3 separate regions of the Homo sapiens genome follow, and regions 2 and 3 are each linked to region 1. Evidence: promoter capture Hi-C in human tissues and cell types (Jung and others, 2019). All regions are on one chromosome and are shown on one strand. The core of a region is centred on a gene start or on the middle of the fragment in contact, and the rest is flanking DNA. Distances in the headings are between cores, read along the strand shown. Region 1 holds the start of ANKRD11 (ankyrin repeat domain containing 11). Region 2 overlaps ANKRD11 (ankyrin repeat domain containing 11). Region 3 overlaps ANKRD11 (ankyrin repeat domain containing 11).

Region 1 (4,677 bases), core at 1,383-3,882:
TCAACAGCCCATCTGGGAGGGTGTGATGGCACTGCTGGTATGGGGTGCCCAGCATGGCCAGTCCGGAGAAAAGCATCTGGCGGTGGCAATGCAAGTCAGAAGGCTGACGCAAATGAGAGCTGCAAAAGAGGAACTCAGGTTTTAAAGGTGACACCTTTAAAAACAAAATTCTGGTAAATTGTGTTATGTATATTTTACTACAGCAAAAATAGAACAGAAGAAAAAAACTGCTGAAAGTTTCAAGTTTAGGTCAAATTTAGCACTATCTTGTGGGGAACTTTTCAACAAACTTAAGAGGCATCACGAAGAACAGAGAAAACGTCACAGCAACTTGGTCTTTGTTCCCTCCCATCCAGTTCCATTCAGATGGCCAGCCTATCGAAGGAGATCCTGCTCTTCGGGGAGAAACTACAGAAAGAGGAGAACAACAGCTGAATGGAGGGTAGGGGAGGCCACACCAACTATACGAGATCCAATGCAAGGGTCACAATGAAGGCTGAGCAAGACATCCGCCCCCCCCCCTTTTTTTCTAGTTTAACTACAGTTGCAGAGTAAAATCAGAGGACTTCTGTAATCATTCTCTAACAGAACTCGAAGTCTTCCAGGGCAGCCAATACTTACTAAGAGAAATCAAGGTCTCAGAGAAACCAAAGAAACAGCCTCAGGGTCTCCGATTTTGAACGTTATGCCATAGACTAGGTCTGCACACAACAAAAACAGTAACTGTTTCGATGGCACTTTTTCCACAGGTAATATCATCTTATATGTTTGGCTAAGTCTCAACATCCCAAAAAGGATCAAAAGATTCTCTAAGTTTTGCAGTTCAACAACTGTGCACACTTTTATTTCTCATTTCAAGTGTTAAGGATATTGCTCTAATGACTGCATAAAACTCTCTCCTCATGTAAGAAAGCCTGAAATCTAATTTCTCTACCATAAAACCCTGTTCTTGCAAAAGGATACAAAACTACTCATAATCTACAAAAACGATGAATCCTAAGCATGTTACATAGAAGGAAAACAGTTTCAAAGCATAGGGAGCTGTTAGACCAGCTTCATCTTCCCAAGCCTCTTCCAAAACTTCTTGGAAGCTGATATATAACACTAACCTTCCAAAAACACAACAGAAGCAGAAAATCTTAATGGGGCACCAGGAAAAGAGCAAGCCTCGAGAAAAATCAAGACTCCCCCCGACCAACCTTCCCAAATAACACAAACACAAGAGTTAACAGTACAATCCCTCTTTGAGAGGGGACTGAATCAATGTGGCAGGGCCAACCCTACACACACACACACACGCGCGCGCGCGCGCGCGCGCACACACATACACCACACACACAGCTACCGCCCTGCCAGGGGATGATGAAATGAGGAACGGAAATTAACATTTCAGGCAACGTCTCACATTGTTCCTTGAGGCCAAGGGCTGCTGTTGCAGCCGCCACCGCCACCGCTTTCCTCCCAGCCACCCCCCACACCCGCCCGCCTACCCTCCCCCTAACACCCCCCACACGGCTGCCCGCATTCCTGCCCCTCCTCGGCCTACGCGCGCCTCCTGCAACCCCGACGCCCCCAGGTCCCCAGTTCGCCCTCCCCCTCCGGCTCGGAGCCCGAGAGCCGCCTGCTCTCATTTCAAAACAGCGATAATAATAGGGACGCTGAGAATAACAACTACGACCAGCACGGCGAAGGCGCCCCTCTCGCGGGTCAGAGGTCGGCGCCCCAGCTCCGCAGAACCCGGCGCCCGGCCAGCGCCCCCTGGCAGCCCCTCCCGGCAGCCTCAGGTCCCCAAGACCTGCAGGCCCGCCCCGAAGCCCCCCGTCCGCCCCTCACGGCCGCTCCGAGCCCCCGAGGCCCGCCCCGGAGCCCCCTGTCCGCCTCTCACGGCCGCCCCGGGCCCCCACGGCCCCCAGGCCCGCCCCGGAGCCCCCAATCGGCCCCTCAGAGCCGCCGCGGGCCCCCGGCCACCCAGGCCCGCCCGGAGCCCCCGTCCGCCCCTTACGGCCGACCCAAGCTCCGCCGACCTCCCAGGCCCCCCCCGGAGCCCCCTATGGGCCCCTCACGGCCACCCCGGGCCCCCAAAGACCCCCGGCTGCCCCGAACCCGGACCCGTAGGCCCGCTCCGGGACCCATTATTGGTCCCTCACGATCGCCCCGGGCCCCCAAAGACCCCCGCCCACCCGGCCCCGACCCCCCAGGCCCGCCCGGAGGCCCGCGGCGCAGCTCCGTCGCCGGGGAAGGCCTGCAGGCCGCAAGGCCGCGCGAATGCCCCGTGCCCGCCCCGACCACCGCCCCCAGACCAGCGGCGCCTCTCACCGTGCTCCGAGGGCTGCGCGGCTCCGCGACGGCTCAGCGGCGGGGCGCGGGCGCTGCCCATGCAGCCCGCGGCCGCGTTTCCCGGGCCGCGCGGCCCGAGCGGCAAGGCGGCGGCGGCGGCGGCGCGGGCTCGGGCCCGGCAGAGCTGCGAGGGACGGCGGGAGGCGAGCCCGCCCCTCGGGCGCGCCCACGGCTCGGGCGAGAGCCGCGGCTCCCGGTGCGGACGCTACTGATGGGGCGTCTGGCCGCGGGCTCGGCGGCGGCGCCTCCCCGGCTGGGGCCCTCGGTCCATCGCGCACCGTCTCAGGGCGGCCTCTGGCTCCAGGACCCAGCGGCGGCTGCGGCGGGAGCCGGCCGCATGAGACGCTCCCGCCCATTGGCCCGCCGTATCCGCCACCGCCATTGGCCCGCCCCGGCCGGCCGCAGGGGCTGTGCACGTCACAGCGCCGTGAGTTAGTGCGCTAATGGAGTGAAGGAGAGAGGCGGGATTGACAGCCTCTCTGGCGGTCCGGAGGCGGGACTAGGAGGACGTCCCGGTAACGATTGGGCAGGGTCCTGCGTAAGGGCGCATGCGACACTGGAAGTAGCGAGCAACTGGATTGGCTGCCTCCGTCGCAAAGGAGGGTGGGTCTTGCATTCTCGGGCCTGACGATTGGTCTTTCCAAGTGCCGGAAGCAACAGGGATGTCGTCTGGAAACAAAATCTGGTATTGAAGCGCAGGGAGACAAAACGTCCACCTCTAGAGCCGAGGCGGCGGTTGCCTGTCGCGTGCCCGTGGTCTTCTGCCTGCCCCCGGACATCTCGGGCCACGTCCGGCCCGGCCTCCGGCCGCGCTGCCCTAACGGGCGTCACGGGGCATGAAGAGCTCTGGGCGGCTGCGAGGGGAGGGTACCGGGGCAGCGGGGCGGTCGCTCGGGGCTCCCGCGCGGTGACTCTTGCTCTGCCGTCGAAGAGAACGGCCCTCGGGCGCGTCGCGGCCGCGGCTCCAGAGCCCCTGGGCCTCGCGCTCTGAGAGCCTGAGCCGCTTGAGGAGGCCAAGCGCCCACGAACCGCATTCCCTGCCTTGCTAGTTAGTTCTCCAACACGCGAAAAAGGTAGACGAGGACTGGTTTTCTTTGCAGCTAAAATGAATCAAGCCTCTGGTAAGTGTGGATCCTGTTCTAAGTGCACCTGTGTTCTCCTCCAGAACTAAACCAAAAAGCAAGGTGAACAAAATCGGTGCTCCTTCAGTTTCTTCTTTAGTTCTGCATGTTACTGGGGACTAAGACAACGGGTAAGCAAACTATTTATAGGCCTCAATTTACGAAATAACGGAATTGCAAAGTCCGGAGTGGATAGGACCGTGAGGACGGTCTTTTTTCTTGGGCAACACGCATTATGGTCGAGAGATCAGTTGTTAAACCGCCCCTGTTCAAATCCCAGCCCTACCAGTGACTAGCGGTCACCCTGTAGGCTTTGTCTCTCAGATCTTCAGTTTCTTGGTGGGTAAAATGGGAACTACAAGTAGCACCTATTCTTTTTTTTTTTTTTTTTTGAGTCAGGGTCTCACTCTGTCGCCCATGCTGGAGTGCAGTGCTAACTGCAGCCTCAGCTTCCCGGGCTCAGAGGATCCTCCCACCTTAGCCTACTAAGTAGGTGGGACCACAGTCAGGCATCACCACACCCGGCTAATTTTTTAAATTTTCGTAGAGATAGGCTCTCTGTGTGTTTCCCAGGCTGGTCTTGAAATCCTGGACTCAAGCGACCCTCCCTCCTCAGCTTCCCAAAGTGCTGGGATTAGAGGCATGAGCCACGGTGCGGGCCAGGAGCACCTATTTCATAGGCCCATCGGGAAGATTAAATGAAGGGGCTGTGGAGGCTGTAGCACGGTGCTTGGCACGTATGTGAGCTCTGGGGAAACATTAGTTATGCTATAACTGGACCTTCAGCCTTCTCTAGGCAGCCAGATTTCGGGCTCCACCCACAACTAGTCACGCCATTGGATGAGGGGTGAGCGCCTGATAAAAACAGCCGGCGTATGCGCTGATGTGCGTTCACGAAGAGGTGATCCAAGTGTTTCCATATTTGCCTCACTGGACGAAGTATTTGGTAAAATTGACGAAATTCAGAGTCCTGGACCCCATCATCACCTATGGAATTATTCTAGATGAGAGGGGACTAGGCATTGGCATTTTTTTATTTTGGTCCCTTACAATACTCATCATTGGGAAAATTTGAAAAACATCAACCTAAGCCGTCATGCTCGCACTCGAGAATGTTTCCCCTAGGCTGATTGACGGGCAGTGGTATTCACAGGTGCGGTCAGCGCAGTCCAGCTTCAAACTTCCGGGGATCAAGTGATCCTCCCGCCTGAGGAGCTGA
Region 2 (4,677 bases), core at 834-3,333, 56 kb before region 1:
GGTACACGCCTGTGGTCCCAGCTACTCAGTAGAATCACTTGAGTCTCTACTCAGGAGAATCACTTGAGCCTGTGAGGTCGAGGCTGCAGGGGGCTTTATCACAGCCCCACACTCCAGCCATGGGTGACAGAGACCCTATCTCTCTCTCTCTCTCTCTCTCTCTCTCTCTCTCTCTCTCTCTCTCCTCTCTCTCACACACACACACACACACACGAAATATATGGACACAGGCCACATTATATACAAGCATTGCCATAATAAAAACAGCTCTCCCTTGGCCTCTGAGCATTTTACCCTTTTGATCCATTCAGCTTCTTTAGAACAGATGGATATTCACCATAAGATGTAGTTTATGGACAAGAGTAATTTGGAAATGAAAAAGGAAGACAGTAAGGAGGCCTCCCCTTCAAGAGGGTTTCATGACAAGGCCCAGTTGAGTGGCCATGACTGGCCGGATCCTTTGGCCCTAACATATGGATCCCTCCAGGCTCTTTCAGTCTGCTAACCTACAAGTTAATTAGTCCATTTCTAGGAAGAAAGTGTCCGTTGTCTCCTCTGCAGACTTTCCACTTCCTGACAGCACAGGAACCTAACAGCATGCCAAGTTCAGACTCCTTTTTCTTTGCACCTCACTACCACCGACAGGCTTTCAAACATACTATTCAGAACAGAGACACGGCGTTGGCCACCAGTCCCAGCTCCAGCAACACTAAAAGGCCTCCCTAAAGGAGCAGCAGGAGCGCAACAGAGAAGAACAGGGTTGGACGTGGGGGCTGGGCACACCACCTTCACCAGAGTAAGAGAGAAGGAACGGGCTTGGACGCAGCAGGGCTGGGCACGCCACCTTCACGAGAGTAAGAGAGAAGGAACGGGCTTGGACGCAGCAGGGCTGGGCACGCCACCTTCACGAGAGTAAGAGAGAAGGAACGGGCTTGGACGCAGCAGGGCTGGGCACGCCACCTTCACGAGAGTAAGAGAGAAGCAACGGGCTTGGACGCGGGGACTGGGCACGCCACCTTCTCCAGCCCCAGAGCCCCACTGTGGAGAGAAAAGGGGCTGCTCTCTGCCTCAGAATCCAAGAACTCCTGAGAAAACAGCTACATCGACATCTGGTATTAACATTTGATTGTTTAACCACACTATAAGGGAGAAGGGGACATGGACACTGGCTTCTAAATACAGAAGTTTCCAGCTCCCAGCTGGTTACTCTGAGAAGATGCCCCTAGTGTGTCACCTACAGAGAAGGGAGGATGCCCACCTACCCTGCCTGGCCTGCACCACCCACTAGAAATAAACAACAGGCCCCAAATGCAAACAGGACCAAGAGAAGGGCCATACGGCAGCAGCACCCCAGTGCCTCCAAGATGCCACTCACCCATGGTGCACCCTACACACACTCACCTCCTCAAGACACTATGGATTCTGTGTGTCTGGGGGTGAACTGCAATTTTTTTAATGTTTTCCAAGTAAATCTAATTTAAAAAAAAATCACTGATCTAGCCCTTCCTCACCCAAACTCCCAGTCATACAGTTGTCGAAATAATGACCATAAAGCAATTCTTCTCTAACTTGAGAATTCTCATACTCTTCTTCTCCACGCAAGTCGGAAAGACCTAGTCTGAGAAAGAAAGCCATAAAAATGAGAGAATCCAGCGAAGTCGCTGCAGCCAGGAGGAGCAGCACCGCGCAGTCCTGTGCCTCACCCCTGCCCAGGCCACCTGAGCCCCACCTGTCACAGTAAGGCTGCAGAAGCATGCGGCTGGTCAGCAGCTAATCAGCAGAAGGAAAGCTGGCCCGACAATCCATGCCTATAAATTCCACAACAGATGTCTCCTGAGGTCCAAAATCTGCTCTTATTAAAGAGTGGCGTGTGGGATGGGCAGAGACTCACACAGCCACACCACACACACAAGGTCTCAGGACTCTAGCCAAGGTCTTCTAGTTTGTAGTGGCCTCATGTTTGATGAGCATCTAATAACAAAGACAGGAAAGCACTGGATGGAGACGCGGCGAGGACACTGGCTGTCTGGGGCAGCCTTGCCCTGAGGAAGTTATGCTCTAACTGGTGAGACTGCACCAAGGCACAAGAAAACCCACGACAAACTGAAGTGTCCATGCGGATGGCTAGGTGAAGCAGGGCGCAGGCCCAGGTGTGAACACTCAACTGCTGGGAGCCCAAGACCAACTGATACACCCACAGCCACCAGCTCTTCATGAGAGGTGAAGCCAGCTGGGCTTCTGGGTCGGGTGGGGACTTGGAAAACTCTTCTGTCTAGCTAAAGGTCTGTAAATGCACCAATCAGCACTCTGTACAAATGCATCAATCAGCGCTGTCTAGCTAAAGGTTTCTAAACTCACCAATCAGCACTCTGTAAAAACGCACCAATCAGCACTCTGTGTCTAGCTAAAGGTTTATAAACTAACCAATCAGCATTCTGTAAAAATGGACCAATCAGCACTCTGTAAAATGGCCCAATCAGCGCTCTGTAAATGGACCAATCAGCAGTACGTGGGCAGGGCCGAATAAGGGAATAAAAGCTGGCCACATGAGCCAGCAGCAGCAACCCACTGGGGTCCCCTTCCATGCTGTGGGAGCTGTGTTCTTTCACTCTTCACAATAAATCTTGCTGCTGCTCACTCTTTGGGTCTGTACTACCTTTATGAGCTGTAACCCTCAGCGCGAAGGTCTGCAGCTTCACTCCTGAAGTCAGCGAGACCACGAACCCACCAGAAGGAAAACACTCCAGACACATCTGAAAATCTGAAGGAACAAACTCCGGACACACCATCTTTAAGAACTGTGACACTCACCGCGAGGGTCCACAGCTTCATTCTTGAAGTCAGCGAGACCGAGAACCCACCGGAAGGAACCAATTCCAGACACATTCACACGCAGACGTACTTTCGTTCTGTCCTGCTGGGAGTCCAAGACCAACTGACTGTCCACTCAAGGAACAGACCAACTGACGCACCCACAGCCACCAGCTCTTCACACACACACACACACACACACACACACACACACACACGCTTTCGGTCTGTTCGCTCAAGGAACAGGAAGCCTTTTTCACTTCAACTTCTGCATTCAGTTCAATGTGCTGGTGCCGCCCATCACCTCTAAATCACCGCAAGTTTCAAGAACAGCCAGTTGTGTCCTGGAGCTGTGCTGAGCACGCCCACCAGCCCAGCAGGTGCTGCTGAGAGCAGAGGGTTTTGCAGGGTCACACATTCTTCCAACAATATGACTGCAGACCCCCCAGCAAAAGGAAAGATTCCCCATTTGGGAAAGTAGACTAAAATTTTCTTCTATTAAAACATGATAATTCGGCCGGGCACAGTGGCTCATGCCTGTAATCCCAGCACTTTAGGAGACGGAGATGGGTGGATCACCTGAGGTCAGGAGTTCGAGACCAGCCTGGCCAACTCGGTGAAACCTATCTGTACTAACAATACAAAAATGAGCTGGGCGTGATGGCTCAGAACCTGTAGTCCCAGCTACGTGGGAGGCTGAGGCACGAGAATTGCTTAAACCCAGGAGATGGAGGTTACAGTGAGCCAAGATCATGCCACTGCACTCCAGCCTGGGCAACAGAGTGAGACTCGGTCTCAAAAAAAAAAAGATAATCCAAGTTTCTCCTGACAGATGACATTCATCAACAAGAGATTCAAGCAGAAAAGACCACTGTCTCTAACAGCAAGTATTATACAAGAGCCTCAAGCGACGTCTGCCTTGGGTGTTGGGACATAGCAAACAGGACGGCTGTTCCGCAAGAGCAGGACTGAAGCAGGCGGAAATGAAGACGCAGGGGCATCAGCCATCAGAGCTCTTCTTCCTGGAATAACTATTCCTCTAAGCTGCTCCTTCAGATACAAAATAAAAAGTAACTCTCAACACTGACAAGTCAACGGAGGACACGCGAAAAACCAAAAAACTTTTACTATATTTTTGTTTTAATAAAGTTATTCTAATCCCCTGAGGTAACTGTGAGGGAATTAATAACTAGAGAACTGTTAGAGACCCCTGAAGGTTGGACAATGGTATTGCCGAAGCTTTGTGTTTTGCTCTTCAATAAACTTATCTACTTTCTTAAGCTAACTGAATAAAATTTAATATACATTTATCAACCACATCTTTTAAAAAGAGAGAAAAGTAGGAAACTCAAAGTAGTTTCCTTTAAACAAAAGATGGTCAAAGTTGATGAATTTAGAACATTTGTCCCCAATATCCTAAAAAGTGACATACGAGGAAGGAGATGTCACAGAAGAAAACGACAACACACACCCAAACGGCATCAGCCTGTGTGTGACCATTTTCACAACAGGGAAGGGAACGAAGCGAACAGATCCATCACTGAAAGCGCAGCACACACCTTCTAACCTGGAAATGGAGAAGGAACGTCCACTTATGAAGAGGGCCAACAACAGTGGCCTCTCATTCCATGAACCAAGCATGATGCTAATATGCTAATATGACAGAGAATTTTTTAAAAAGCCACCAAAAAAATACCAAAAAGTGAAAGACTGTATTGTTTGCCCCAACATCTGTTTTCTTCACTCTAATGTTCCCAAACCAGTGCAGCAAACAGGCTGGCTCTTCCCGCCTCCCACTGACTCCTCCACACCCCTACTTCCTCTCTCCTCATTCACCTCTTCTTCTTTCTGCTCTTCTGTGCCTCC
Region 3 (4,677 bases), core at 1,176-3,675, 34 kb before region 1:
CTCAAGCTGCTCCCCTGGGTGCTTCCAGGGTTCCTCAAGCTGCTCCCCTGGGTGCTTCCAGGGTTCCTCAAGCTGCTCCCCTGGGTGCTTCCAGGGTTCCTCAAGCTGCTCCCCTGGGTGCTTCCAGGGTTCCTCAAGCTGCTCCCCTGGGTGCTTCTAGGGTTCCTCAAGCTGCTCCCCTGGGTGCTTCTAGGGTTCCTCAAGCTGCTCCCCTGGGTGCTTCCAGGGTTCCTCAAGCTGCTCCCCTGGGTGTTTCTAGGGTTCCTCAAGCTGCTCCCCTGGGTGCTTCTAGGGTTCCTCAAGCTGCTCCCCTGGGTGCTGTTAGGGTTCCTCAAGCTGCTCCCCTGAGTGTTTCTAGGGTTCCTCAAGCTGCTCCCCTGGGTGCTTCTAGGGTTCCTCAAGCTGCTCCCCTGGGTGCTGTTAGGGTTCCTCAAGCTGCTCCCCTGGGTGCTTCTAGCGTTCCTCAAGCTGCTCCCCTGGGTGCTTCTAGGGTTCCTCAAGCTGCTCCCCTGGGTGCTTCTAGGGTTCCTCAAGCTGCTCCCCTGGGTGCTGTTAGGGTTCCTCAAGCTGCTCCCCTGGGTGCTTCTAGCATTCCTCAAGCTGCTTCCCTGGGTGCTTCTAGGGTTCCTCAAGCTGCTCCCCTGGGTGCTGTTAGGCTTCCTCAAGCTGCTCCCCTGGGTGCTTCTAGCGTTCCTCAAGCTGCTTCCCTGGGTGCTTCTAGGGTTCCTCAAGCTGCTCCCATGGGTGCTGTTAGGGTTCCTCATGCTATCTCCCCTTAAGTGCTGTGGCAGCAGTGCAGAGCCCACATAGCTATATAAGCTACTCAGTAAGAAAAACCACACAGGAGCTACACGCACCACATCATGGACAAACCTCAAAACACACCAGGTGGGGATGTCACTGAAAACAGCCCCAAAACTCACTCCTTCCAACACTGCATGAGTAAGCTGCAAAAACTGTCAGAATCAACTCTTCAGAACTGTGGAGTCTAATAAAAAACTTCTAACAAGCAGAGAACGCCTAATGAAAAAGCTGCTCGATTTGGGCAGGAGAGAGCTGTGGAGAGGAACTTACCTGCTCACACACCTCATCCTTGGAGACAGCAGCCCCCATTGCTGGTACAAAAGAGTGCCGCAGACTCAATTCTCAAAGAATTGGGGCTGTACATTTTGACCTATCTGGTAGGAATGTAAAATGGTGCAGCTGTTGTTGAAATACTTTGGCAATTCCTCAAAAGGTAAACACAGAACTATGATATAACACAGCAATTCCACTCCTTGGTATATGCCCAAAAAGTGTTCAAATGGAAACCTGTGCACACATGCTCACAGCACTATTGAAAACAGAAAGGTGGAAACAGGTAGGGCGTGGTGGCTCACACCTCTAATCCCAGCACTTTTGAGAGGCTGAAGCTGGCCAATCACCTGAGGTCAGGAGTTTGAGACCAGCCTGGCCAACATGCTGAAATCCTGTCTCTACTGAAAAATACAAAAAGTAGTCTGGTGTGGTGGCGTGCACCTGTAGTCCCAGCTACCCGGGAGGCTAAGGCAGGAGAATCATTTGAACCCAGGAGGCGGATGTTGCAGTGAACCGAGATTGTGCCACTATACTCCAGCCTGGGCAACAGAACAAGATTCGGTCCCAAAAAAAAAAGGGGGGGTGGAAACGGGGGCCAGGCAAGCTGGCTCATGCCTGTAATCCCAGCACTTCGGGAGGGCAAGACAGGCAGACCACTTGAGGTCAGGAGTTCGAGACCAGCCTAACCAACATGGAAAAACCCTGTCTCTACTAAAAATAGAAAATTAGCCGAGCGTGGTGGCATGTGCCAGTAATGCCAGCTACTCGGGAGGCTGAGGCAGGAGAATCACTTGAACCCGGGAGGCGGAGGTTGCAGCAAGCCGAGATCACGCCACTCCAGGCTGGGTGACAGAGCAAGACTCCGTTTCAAAAAAAAAAAAAAAAGATGGAAACAAGCCAAGTGTCAATCAAGACAGGATGGGTAAACACCCTGCCTACACCCAGACAATGCAGCATTATTCACAAGTAAACAGGAATACAGTTCCAAGACATACAACATAGATGGACTCCAAAAACACGTTATGTGAAAGAAGCCGGACACTAAAGGCCATATATTATATGAACTCATTCCTAGGAAGTCTCCAAAATAGACAGATCCACAGTGGCACAGAGTCAACAGTGGCTGAAGAGCTGCGGAGAAGTGGAGCGCTTCCTTCGGGGGGAACAGAAATATCCTGGAATAGACATAATGGTGCTAGTTGCACAAAGTTGTAAATGTGCTACAGGCCATGGAATTGTACACATTCAAATGGTCAGAGTGGTGGGGTGTTCGTTATGTGAGTCTTTTTTTTTTTTTTTTTTTTGAGACGGAGTCTCGCTCTGTCGCCCAGGCTGGAGTGCAGTGGCGCAATCTCGGCTCACTGCAAGCTCCGCCTCCCGGGTTCACGCCATTCTCCTGCCTCAGCCTCCCAAGTAGCTGGGACTACAGGCGCCCGCCACTACGCCCGGCTAATTTTTTGTATTTTTAGTAGAGACGGGGTTTCACCGTTTTAGCCGGGATGGTCTCGATCTCCTGACCTCGTGATCCGCCCGCCTCGGCCTCCCAAAGTGCTGGGATTACAGGCGTGAGCCACCGCGCCCGGCCGAGTCTTACCTCAATAAAATTAAAGTAGTATGTCAGACTCAAAAGACTACAAATTCCAGGCCAGGCGCAGTGGCTCACGCCTGTAATCTCAGCACTTTGGGAGGATGAGGTGGGCAGATCATGCGGTCAGGAGTTCAAGACCAGCCCAGTCAATATGGTAAAACCCTGTCTCTACTTGAAAATACAAAAATTAGCCAGGCGTGGTGGTGGGCACCCGTAATCCCAGCTACTCGGGAGGCTAGGGCAGAAGAATCACTTGAACCCGGGAGGCGGAGGCTGCAGTGAGCTGAGATCGCGCCACTGCACTCCAGCAAGGCTCCGTCTCAAGAAAAAAAAAAAAAAAGACTACAAATTCCATTCATATGAAATTCTAAAATAAGCAAAACTAATCCACAATAACAGAAAGTGGGCTGGCAGTGCTTGGGGCAGTGGAGGGTTCTGGTTACAAATGGGCATTCTGCGGTGATGGAAATGTCTGTGTCAAGCTGGTGCTTAATACCTGGGGTATCAAAACTGTCAAACTCATCCTACTGTACCTTCTAAAATGGCTGCTTTTATTATATAAAGTATACAGGTATAAACATCACTGAAGAAATCCAGGTACATGTGAAACACACAAGTGTGGAGCTGAATGGAGCCACGCGAACCAATACACAATCGTCAGATTCAGACCCAGACCCCAGCTGAGACGGCACCTCGCAATGACTTGCTCCCAAAGAAAGATGTTCTGGCCAGAGCCCTGGAGACCCCACACCTGGGGACTGGAGACCGCAGCCATCCACCTGCAACTCTGTTCTCAGACACCTCTGCTGTGCGGTGGCCCCAGGAAAGCAGTGACACAAAAAGAAAAAAAAAAGCTTTCTGAAACGGTGCTTTAGAGGTTTAACCAAAATAAAACTCAACCAATTTTCTTCAAAACATAAACTCCTGTTCTTGTTGTACTTTAGCACTTGCTTTACGTAATTTCATTTCTTTTTTTTTTTTGAGACGGAATCTCACTGTGTCACCCAGGTTGGAGTGCAGTGGCGCGATCTCCGCTCACTGCAAGCTCCGCCTCCCGGGTTCAGGCCATTCTCCTGCCTCAGCCTCCTGAGTAGCTGGGACTACAGGCGCCCGCCACCACGCCCGGCTAATTTTTTGTATTTTTAGTAGAGACGGGGTTTCACCATGTTAGCCAGGATGGTCTCGATCTCCTGACCTCGTGATCCGCCCATCTCGGCCTCCCAAAGTGCTGGGATTACAGGCGTGAGCCACCGTGCCCGGCCACGTAATTTCATTTCTTAGGAATAACATTTTACATTAAAGAAAATACTTTGCCACGCTTTCACTCATGATTTTGCAGTTCCACTGGAAGGCTGAACATCACTCTGGCAAGTTCAGACATGTTCCATTAATCATCTCCAAGGCTGCTTGCTACAAAGAAGCTGTTTCATTCAACAGCATCTCCTTAAACAAAATCCAAGCCTGCTTTGCCTTTGGTAACCAAAACTTGATTTAACCTCCCAAAGAGGGAGCCAGCCTGCTGCTGGCCACTGCGTGCCCTAGGCCTCAGCTTCCTGCTGCTGACTGGCTGCCTGCATCTCCTCTGCGGCCCCGGCCTCATGAAGCTGCCCACTGGTCCTGTGGTTCCTCAGGGGTCCTGGCACTGGCAAGGGGACGCAGCAAACCCACACCGTCGTGACCCTGGTCACATACACCTGTCTTCAGGAAAACTTCTCTGTGATGAAAGAACCCAGATTCACAGTGGTGAACTCTTCAAAAACTATACTAAACAAGGGAAGACTGTGCTAGATGAAATAACCATACATGCATTTATTCACATGGGAAATGGATCAGACAATGGCTGCCAATGCTAAGAATAAATTCTTGATGAGTTTCTAAGAAATCAAGACAACCTTCAAGGTTGGGCCAAGAGCATGGATGGGAAAGGCAGATGTGCATCTGGTTCTGTTTTCTGACCATAATAATGAGATCTACATGAAAGGATGTCTTGAGAGGAGGGAACAGTGGTAAGA

The links. The method cuts DNA at HindIII sites, captures the fragments that hold promoters and counts their contacts. A contact is called where the count stands out against the background at its distance.
Region 2: a contact is called between a fragment that was not itself captured here and the fragment with the promoter of ANKRD11 in region 1, in 3 of the 25 tissues and cell types used here (mesenchymal stem cells, pancreas and spleen).
Region 3: a fragment that was not itself captured here is called in contact with the fragment with the promoter of ANKRD11 in region 1 in 2 of the 25 tissues and cell types used here (hippocampus and mesenchymal stem cells).

What each region holds. Positions count from the first base shown.
Region 1 is chr16:89,487,929-89,492,605 of GRCh38, forward strand. ANKRD11 (ankyrin repeat domain containing 11) reads right to left here and starts at 2,633. Exons shown (of 13, transcript NM_013275.6): 1 at 2,317-2,633. It overlaps LOC101930112 (a long non-coding RNA gene), which reads left to right and starts at 3,042. Exons shown (of 2, transcript XR_933895.4): 1 at 3,042-3,458. LOC101927863 (a long non-coding RNA gene) reads right to left here. Exons shown (of 5, transcript NR_188547.1): 5 at 4,475-4,677. RefSeq lists enhancers at 1-321, 100-369, 520-589, 1,179-1,692, 1,693-2,207 and silencers at 1,489-1,558, 1,599-1,708, 1,789-1,838, 2,413-2,892, 3,093-3,182 and 1 more. The HindIII fragment of the contact is 15,043 bases long and covers 1-4,677 here.
Region 2 is chr16:89,432,807-89,437,483 of GRCh38, forward strand. All of the region lies in intron 1 of ANKRD11 (ankyrin repeat domain containing 11), which reads right to left. All of the region lies in intron 1 of LOC101927817 (a long non-coding RNA gene), which reads left to right. Among named protein-coding and RNA genes, the nearest start is that of ANKRD11, 55 kb to the right of the region's middle. RefSeq lists an enhancer at 109-881. The HindIII fragment of the contact is 5,175 bases long and covers 1-4,671 here.
Region 3 is chr16:89,454,597-89,459,273 of GRCh38, forward strand. All of the region lies in intron 1 of ANKRD11 (ankyrin repeat domain containing 11), which reads right to left. It also overlaps the pseudogene CMPK1P2. Among named protein-coding and RNA genes, the nearest start is that of ANKRD11, 34 kb to the right of the region's middle. RefSeq lists enhancers at 3,749-4,250, 4,251-4,677. The HindIII fragment of the contact is 8,928 bases long and covers 1-4,677 here.